2 separate regions of the Homo sapiens genome follow, and region 1 is linked to region 2. The links are contacts of gene promoters, found by promoter capture Hi-C in human tissues and cell types (Jung and others, 2019). All regions are on one chromosome and are shown on one strand. The core of a region is centred on a gene start or on the middle of the fragment in contact, and the rest is flanking DNA. Distances in the headings are between cores, read along the strand shown. Region 1 has its middle 3.8 kb from the start of ATP2B4. Region 2 holds the start of PRELP (proline and arginine rich end leucine rich repeat protein).

What was found. The method cuts DNA at HindIII sites, captures the fragments that hold promoters and counts their contacts. A contact is called where the count stands out against the background at its distance.
Region 1: a contact is called between a fragment that was not itself captured here and the fragment with the promoter of PRELP in region 2, in 3 of the 25 tissues and cell types used here (H1 embryonic stem cells, IMR-90 fibroblasts and aorta).

Annotation. Positions count from the first base shown.
Region 1 is chr1:203,620,782-203,625,328 of GRCh38, reverse strand. No RefSeq gene overlaps it. Among named protein-coding and RNA genes, the nearest start is that of ATP2B4, 3.8 kb to the left of the region's middle. The HindIII fragment of the contact is 5,394 bases long and covers 1-4,408 here.
Region 2 is chr1:203,473,519-203,478,191 of GRCh38, reverse strand. PRELP (proline and arginine rich end leucine rich repeat protein) reads right to left here and starts at 2,386. Exons shown (of 3, transcript NM_002725.4): 1 at 2,254-2,386. The HindIII fragment of the contact is 3,589 bases long and covers 1,173-4,673 here.

The DNA.
Region 1 (4,547 bases), core at 462-2,961, 150 kb before region 2:
TTGAGACGGAGTCTTGCTCTGTTGCCCAGGCTGGAGTGCAGTGGCGTGATCTCGGCTCACTGCAAGCTCCGCCTCCGGGGTTCACGCCATTCTCCTGCCTCAGCCTCCCGAGTAGCTGGGACTACAGGCCCCTGCCACCACGCCCGGCTAATTTTGTTTTTGTATTTTTAGTAGAGACGGGGTTTCACCATGTTAGCCAGAATGGTCTCGATCTCCTGACCTCATGATCTGCCCGCCTCGGCCTCCCAAAGTGCTGGGATTACAGGCGTGAGCCCCCGCACCCGGCCAGTAATGTTTTTAGACTGGTTGGGCTGGGCTCAGAACTCAGAGTTCATCAATGTGAGGCTGGAGATTGCCTGCTGTCATCTGAAAACAAAATCCAAAATAAGCCCTGGCTAGGCACAGTGGCTCATCCGTGTAATTCCAGTACTTTGGGAGGCTGAGGAGGGAGGATCACTTGGGGCCAGATTTCAAGACCAGCCTGGGCAACATAGCAAGACCCACCCCATCTCTACAAAAAAATTAAAAACAAGAGAAAAAAAATAAGCCCCTGCCTGTGCTTGTGCCTCTCCCTGCCAGCAGCCGAAGAAAGTTGCAGGGGTAAGGGGAGATTTTAGGGTCACCCTCTATGGGAACTATGGATTGTTTGGTCTTTTTTGTCTAGTGATTGACTGTCTGACACTCAAGGCACTTACAGGACACTAAAGGTGACCTTTGTTCTCATTTCAGCCTCTTGCAACTCCTCTAGTCACTCCCACCTTCCCAGGGCATTTCAAGAACAGTTAGTACCTTGTTAGATTCCTTCCTTCCTCCCTCCCTCTTCCCTCCCTCTTCCATTCCCTCCCTCTTCCCTTCCCTCCCTCTTCCCTTCCCTCCTTTTTCCCTCCCCTTCCCTCCTTTTCCCTCCCCTTCCCTTCCCTTCCCTTCCTTTCTCCCTTTCTTTCCCCTTCCTTCCTTCCATCTCCCTTCCTTCCTTCCCTCCCTCTACCTTCCTTCCTTCCTCCCTCCCTCTTTCTTTCTTTCTTTCTTTCTTTCTTTCTTTCTTTCTTTCTTTCTTTCTTTCTTTCTTTCTTTCCTTCCTTCCTTCCTTCCTTCCTTCTTTCTTTCTTTCTTTCTCTCTTTCTTTCTCTTTCTTTCTTTTTCTCTTCCTTTTTTCCGTCCTTCCTTCCTCTCTTCCTTCCTCCCTCCCTTCCCTCCTCCCTTTCCTTCCTTCCTTCCTTCTTCCTTCCTTCTTTTTTTTCATTATGGGTCTCCCTGTGTTGCCCAAGTTGCTTTTAAACTCCTGACCTCAAGTGATCCTCTCGCCTCAGCCTTCCTAGAAACTGGGACTACGGGCACACCCTACAATGCACAGCACCCTTGTTAGATTTTGGTAGACCCTAGCAAAATATCAGCTTCAGGAGCCCAAATCAATTGTTGGGGAAGACATGAGAAAGAAAGGAAAAGAAATGAATCAGCTTAACAGAGCTGCAGATTTAATGGCTTGTCAGGCTCCCTGCTGGATGGCAACAACATGACATTTTAGCACCAATGAGTGTCAGTTGCATCTTTATCATAAGAAAGCCAGTCTCTGAAATGACTGTTTAAATGTATTAAAGTATATTTTAAGCTCGTCTGCAGTGGCTGTGTGTGGAGGCATTGCCTAACTGTTCAGTAAACTTGTCTTGGGGGAATGACAATTTAGGCCAGATGTATGGTCCCAATAAAGAAGAAGTCTGCTTTGGCTGCCTGTTTTGTGGGGACTGGGAAATGATACCCTTTCATAGCTGGTTATTATTGGAAAGGTAAGATCTTCCCCTCAAGCTCCCTGGATTCCAGGGAGACAGGCTCTGCCAGGGAGGTGCTGTCAAAAGAGGCTCTGATGGCTGTCCCACATCTGGCTGGCTAGGATTCAGGGGCAGGCCAGGTTTATGACTTCCAGGGTGGCTGTAGATCCTCCCCTTGACCGGCTGTGGGGTTGTGGGATGAGAAAAAAGGAATCCCCCTCCCACTCCATTCCCACCCCAGCTCTGCTGCAGACAGGAGGGAGGGATGTCGGGGGGTGGGTCAATGTGACCCCAGAGGAGCCGAGGGGACCATAGCCTGATCTCTGTCACTGAGCTGACCACTGAGGCCTGTGTTTTCTGGAAAGCTAGAAGCCTCAGTGCTTCGCTTCTTGCAGCGGCAGGTTTGAGGTCTAGAACGGGTAAAAATAAATCTATCCATAAAAATAACCACTAGATGTGGGAAAATGGAGTTGGCCCCCCTGGGGCAAGAAGGAGGACACTGCCTCTGGCATCAGAAGTTCATAGTCTGCCTGTTCTGCTCAGCTCTGAGCAGTCCTGTTTCCCTCTTCTCCCTGCTGTACTCTTGACTTTACAGGTTCCTGTTCTTTAGATCTAGCCTGGCTCTCCTCAGCCTCCTGAACTCCCCATAGCAGGTCAGTCTCTACAGGGCTTACATCACTGTGGACCCTGTCCCTACCCCATCTCTCACTTGAGGAAAATGCAGTCAGCACTGTCTCTCACTTAGGTGTTTAACAGAATGTGTTCCTCTGCCTCTTGATGACTCCACCTTGAGTTTTCCAAATCTTCCTCACCATTTCCTGTACCTCCCCCGAATGCAGACTGCATGACTCCCTGTTGTGAATATCTACCATTTTGCCTTGGCTAGAACAGCAGCCATTTTCCCCATGCCCGAACCCAGTTCTTTGGGACGTCCTTTCTTCTCACTGTTAAGATGGAAACTGGGCCAGGCATGGTGGCTCATGCCTGTAATCCCAGCACTTTGAGAGGCCGAGGTGGTTGGATCACTTGAGGTCAGGAGTTCAAGACCAGCCTGGGCAACATGGTGAAACCCCGTCTCTACCAAAAATACAAAACTTAGCTGGCACGGTGGTGCGCGCCTGTAGTCCCAGCTACTCGGGAGACTGAGGCAGGAGAATCGCTTGAAACCAGGTGATGGAGGTTGCAGTGAGCTGAGATTGCACCACTGTACTCCAGCCTGGGTGACAGAGTGAGACTCTGTATCAGTAAATAAATACATAAATAAAAATACAAAAAAAAATCACTGGGCATGCCTGTAATTCCAGGTACTCAGGAGGCTGAGGCCCGAGAATCACTTGAACCCCAGAGGCTGAGGTTGCAGTGAGCTGAGATCGTGCCACTGTACTCCAGCTTGGGTGACAGAGTGAGACTCCATCTCAAAACAAAACAAAACAAAACAAAAAACAACAATTGAAACTGACATTTTATTAGCAGTCCTAACCCCACCTGACCCAAGCTGAGCCAATTACATCCTTTCCTGAGAGTTTTGCACTTACGATTAAACAGAAAACAAGGCTTGGTCCCTGCTGTGACTACTGTGAAGAGATACTCTGGAAGTATCAGAGGTCAAGTATCTTATACTCTGGAAGTATCAGGGGTCAAGTTCCCTGCCCCATGGAAGAAGCCTGCAATAAAAAAGAATACAGCTCGCATGCAAGAGAGGCAGACGAGAAAGCTAAGGAGTGAGTGCCAGCAGCACTGGAGTTCGTTGTACCTCATATCCCACTGTACCCCTGCCTTTCCTACAAATGAGTTACATGACTCATTGTGCATGCCTACGCTAGATGAAACTAGGTTTTTTGGTCACTTGTACTAAGTAATGTAGAAATGTAGTGTAGAAAGTAATATAGAAAGTCTTTGAGCTACTAGCTACCATTTAGATTCAGTCATTTCTGTGCATTTTATTCATTCAGTTAAGTATCTCTGAACACCTACTATTCAATTTAGCATACATTTATTGAATGTCTACTGTTTCAACATCTACTGGGCCCAGATGAGGTATACAGAGGTAATAAGCTTATAGTTTAGTAGAAGGAAAAGATGCTTTCATAGCATGAGTAGCTACAATCAAAGATGCTATAATCTTTTAAATGTATTTACTGAATGCTTACTATGTGCTAGGTAGTACATATTAAAAGATGAAATATAAAATGCTAGGAAATGCTAGGGAGTGATTGCCTCAGATGGGAATATTAGAAGGCTCTAGGAAGGAGATAATATTTGCAAGTACCTGAAAAATCTTGAAAAGCAAGCTTTAAACTGTTTTGGATGGAGGCGGGGTTAGGGTGGGACATGAGCAAAGGTCTGGAGGTAGAAAGAATAGAGAACGAGGTGGGTGGGTTGCCTGAGGCCAGGAGTTCAAGCCTGGCCTGGGCAACATGGCAAAACCCCATCTCTAGTAAAAAAATTAGCTGGGTGTAGTGGTACACACCTGTAATCCCAGCTACTTGGGAGGCTGAGGCACAAGAATAGTTTGAACCCAGGAGGCAGAGTTTGCGGTGAGCCGAGATTGCACCACTGCACTCCAGTCTGGGTGACAGAGTGATAGTCTGTCTCAAAAAAAAAAAAAAAAGAAAAAAAAAAAGAAAAAGAAAAAAGAAAAAAGAGTAGAGGAGAAAGACTGGGGAGGTAGTTTGAGTTCAGTCAATGGAGGGCCCTGAGTGGCCTCACTGGGTCTGTGTTTAGTAAGCTGGCTGTGGCAGTAGTGTGTAGGGTAGACTGCAAGCCTAAAGATGGTGGGAG
Region 2 (4,673 bases), core at 1,137-3,636:
ATTGCTTTTCTGCTCTATAAAATGGGGATACTAACACCTTCTTTTCTGTTTTGAGGGTTAAATGAGTTAATACATGCAAAGTGAGTGTTTTCTGAATGTTAAGGTCTTGTTGATATTATTTCAAAGTAATGGGGTCTCCTTCCCTCCAGCCTGGCTAGAGGGCAGCCCCCATGCACTGCTCGAAGGCAGGGATCCTTGTGAGTGGGGTACCAGCTCTTCCACACAGAGCAACTTCCTCCCCTTTGTGGCTTGTGAGATCACACTTGGGTCTCAGAAACAACTAACTGAGGAGACTCTGGAAGTCCCCAGCCACCTAGGGAAAGCTTGTTCTGTCTTTCTAATTCACCAACTTCTCACCGATGCTTTCTGCAACAGGTGAGGGGACACTGGCCACAGAAGGTGCAAGTCTGCCTTCCTCAGTGGGCCATGGAGTTCCACTGCGATTCTTGACTTCTCCCAGCTTTTTGCCCCTTCCAGCCTTGAAATGCTTCACTCACATGCCCAATAAATGGGATTGCCCACTAGGGAGGTGGAGGGGGCATGAAGAAAGTGTTCAGCTCACCCTCTGTGAGAGCCCAGACAGGTGGCTGCTGGGAAGGAGGAGCAGGGACCTATAAGGGTCAGGGGAAGGGCCCAGCACATGCTCCTGGGGTCCTGGGGCAGGCAGATTAACAGGTGAGGGGAAACAGAAGCTCTGTGGAGCCATCTTGGGGGAACTTTCTTACTGGAATGTTCCTCTGTGGTATATATGGCTGCTTGTGCTTGCAAGGAGGAGAGAGGGAGACAGCTCTTCCCTGTTTACTCCCACTCCCCAAAAAAGAGGTGGCCTATTTGGGACACTCTGGTGCTCCTTTTCCAGGACACAGTCCTTCTGCCCAGCTAACACTGCCGGAGTCTTGGGCTTAAAAATTACAGCAAAGCTCTCTCTCAGGCCCCTGATTCTCGAGCCCTGGTGGACCATCAGAATCTCCTGAAGTATTAAAACAAGATTCCTGGGTCTCGATTCAGTAGATCTGCAGTGAGAGCCGACATCTGTATTTTTAGTAAGCCCTCCACACTCCTCCCTCTCCAGCCCTTAGGTGACTGTGAAGATCAGCTGTGTGTGGGACCCCTGATCTCCCTACACCCCGCCTGCCTTGGGACAGACCCTCTCTATTAATAGAGAGGAATGAGCAGGGGAGCAGGAGAGGGGCCGCCCTTCAGTTTTCCCCTCCCCAACTGCTTAAGGAACTGCTGCCTTTTTTTTTTTTTCTCCTCTGCCACAGGACCTTTTGCCAACCTAAATGGTTGGAATAATTTCAGAACGGCTTTAAAGAAAAATATTTTTCTGGCTGCCTGCAGGAAAAAAAAATAAAAAAATGAACTGTCCCCAGAGCTGGGAATTAGGACCTTCAAGGATTGGGAACTGGGTCGCTTTCTTCTTTCTTTCCAAAAGCCAAGTGGTTTGGACCAGTGAGACAGAAATTGAAAGCTGCTGAGAAGACACTGTGCAGGTTGGAAAAAGCCGTTTTTCTCTCCCTCCTACCCAGTGAAGCCCTAAATAATGAAGAAACCCTTCCAGCTCCCGCTCTTGCTTATCTCCTCCCTATTCGGCCTGGACTTGGGATGCAAGATTTTCTTCTGGCTCTGCCATCTCAGTGGGAAAACGTACTTTATCTTTGCTCTTACAGCTAGGGAGGTGTGTGTGAGAGGGCGAGAGACAAGATGCAGGGAACATGTGTGCATGCATGTGTGTGTGTGTCTGCTGGTGTCTGGTGATGATGTGGTCTAGCTCTGCATGTCAGATGCAGAGGGCAGAGGTGAATGGACAGGATGTCTTCATTTTGTATGGTCGTGTGGGGTGATGGTAGTGAACGTGCAGCCTCCGTGTGATGTGTGTGACTTCCACAATGTGTGACAATACACAAAAGGTGCAAAGAAATGGGTTCTGGAGTCCAGTTTCTATGGAAACACCTGATCTGTAGAAACACTTTGTGCAGCGTGGCTCTCTGTGCTACAACAAACATCTGCAGCAGGAAAGCTTAACTTTTGCAGTAAGCAAATATAGGGGTACAGAGTGATGAAAAGAAAAGGAAGAGGCTATAGGAAAGAAGTTAGGAAGACTAAATTTGAACTCATTTGAGAGGAGAAAGAGGTGGGAGGAAGGAAGGAGTGAGAGGATAGAGACTAGATCAATAAATGGACAGAGCTGGAGGAAACTTACTGGATGAAAGATTCTTCCCAGTCTCCTGCCCATCTCCCAACTGGGCTTACCTGCACACACCTGCCTCTCCTCTCAGCTCTGAGTTTAGTCCTCCTCTTCCACCCCCTCCCTTCGGCGGAGCTGTGGCAGCAGAGAGCCAGCTAGAAGATCTGATCTCCCAGTGGTGTGTGCGTGCTTGTGTTTGCCTGACTTTTCTTCCACCAGATCCTATTGGGGTGGGGAGGTTAGCTTGGGGGGAGGGAGGGGCAGATCATAGGGAGGGAGGGGAGGAGAGGAGGGAGGAGGGAGGGAGGGGAGGGGAGGAGAGAGGGAGGGAGCTTGGGAAAGGAGGAATGACAATAAAGTCTTTATTTGGCAGCCAAAACTCCCAAAGACTTCATCCACACACCATTCCCACTAACAGACTCATTTTTAATAACATTTCCTTCTGCTGCTGCCGCTTCTGGAGAGGGGTTGTTTGACCCATGTTTGGAAAACAAGCCAAATTAACAGAGTGAAAAGGCATGAAAAGCAACCTCTGTGTAAGCCAGGACTGGATGGCTGGGTCCAGCACTAGCCTGTTTAATTCCTCCTAACAATCGCCTTGCCTTCTGGGGCCGTTGCTCGGTAGTGTTAAATTCCTAAACCAGTGAGGGGTTTGGGATGCTTCCTCTGAGCAGTGACAGTCTTTCCCTAAGTTATCTTCTCCAGGAGGTTGCAAAGGGAGTGGAGTCTCAGGCTGGCATAGGAGATAACTTCGGTTTGGCTGCCAGGGCTGTTCTGAGAACCAGAGAGGGAGAAGTCTGGCCTGAGTTGCACAGCAAAGTTAAGGCAGAATTAAGATTTAATGTAAGACCTAAAGTCACTGTTCCTAGCTCATGTGGACAATGTAGTGGCTTCTTTCAGCTTCTCCATATCACACTTAGGTGAGATTTAGGGGCTGTGTGGTCATCACACAAAGTGATGGGAAATCCAAATTTCCCCTGTGCACATCAACACCCCAGAAGACCCAGTCAAGTAACACCACTACCTCTAACAATCCTCTAACAATGCCCCTCAATTAAGAAAGCACAACACACTTGCAGGTAAGTAGATGCCCATCAAAATTTCCTGCCATGGCCAGGCACAGTGGCTCACGCCTGTAATCCCAGTACTGTGGGAGGCAGAGGCAGGCGGATCACCTGAGGTCAGGAGTTTGAGGCCAACCTGGCCAACATGGTGAAACCCTGTCTGTACTAAAAATACAAAAAAATTAGCTGGGTGTGGTGGCGGGCATCTGTAGTCCCAGCTACTAGGGAGGCTGAGGCAGGAGAATTGCTTGAACCTGGGAGGCAAAGCTTGCAGTGAGCCAAGATCGTGCCACTGCACTCCAGCCTGGGCAACAAGAGCGTGACTCTGTCTCAAAAAATAAATAAGTAAATAAAATAAATAAATTCCTGCCATCCCAGCTGACTACTTAGAAAATGCAACGCAATTTTCTTCTCCATTATTGGTTCCATGGAGAGCTGCAGAGCCCCATGACAGGGGACTGCCTGCCTGCCCTCCGCAATATGGGGTAGAGGAGAGAACATTAAAATTAGGGTCTGCAGCCCTGGGCTCAGCCACCCACAAGCTATGGTCTTAGGTGAATCACTTGATCATGAGGACCTTCAGTTTCCTCATTTACAAAATATGGATAATATTGACCTCACAGGGTTGGGAAGATTAAATATTGTAAATGTGAGAGCACTTTATAAACTGGGAAGATATTAGGGTTTAGGAAAGGGATTGCGATGAATGGTAATTAGCCTAAGAAAAGGAGAAGGAAAAATAAAACCCAGACCTTTCTCCAACCCCCTTCCACCCCAGATCTCATGGCTTCACGCCCTGCTGGTGAGGTCTTGCTGGAAGACAGCACGGTTCCTCTCCAGGTTCACATTAACTGTGGCTCTGCCAGGCTGCTCATGTGCTTCATTTCTCATCCAGATGGGATATGGCGTCTTCTGCAGGCCGGGAACATCAGACGCCAGATTTGCTTGTTTCCCTTGGTATGGTGGGTGGTAGATGATAGAGGGCAAAAAAGACTGGCTGGGCACGGAGACTCATGTCTGTAATCCCAGCACTATGGGAGACGAAGGCAGAAGATTAATGGAGCCCAGGAGTTCGAGACCAGCCTGGGCCATATGGGGGGACCCTGTTTGTACAAATAATTTAAAAATTAGCTGGGTGTGGTGGTGTGTACCTGAAGTCCCAGCTACTTAGGAGACTGAGGTGAGAGGATTATTTGAGGCCAGGAGACCAAGGCTGTAATGAGCTATGATTACGCCAGTGCCCTCCAGCCTGGGTCACAGAGCAAGACCCTGTCTCAAAAAATAATAAGGTGAGCAAAGTACAGTGAGGTACAGGGATGATGGGTAGAGTGTCTGTGGGGATAGACAGACTGGAAGGAGTGTGGAGTATGGGCAGGGGCAGGGGTGTCACCTGTATCCATTTGTATGACAGCCATCCAAAT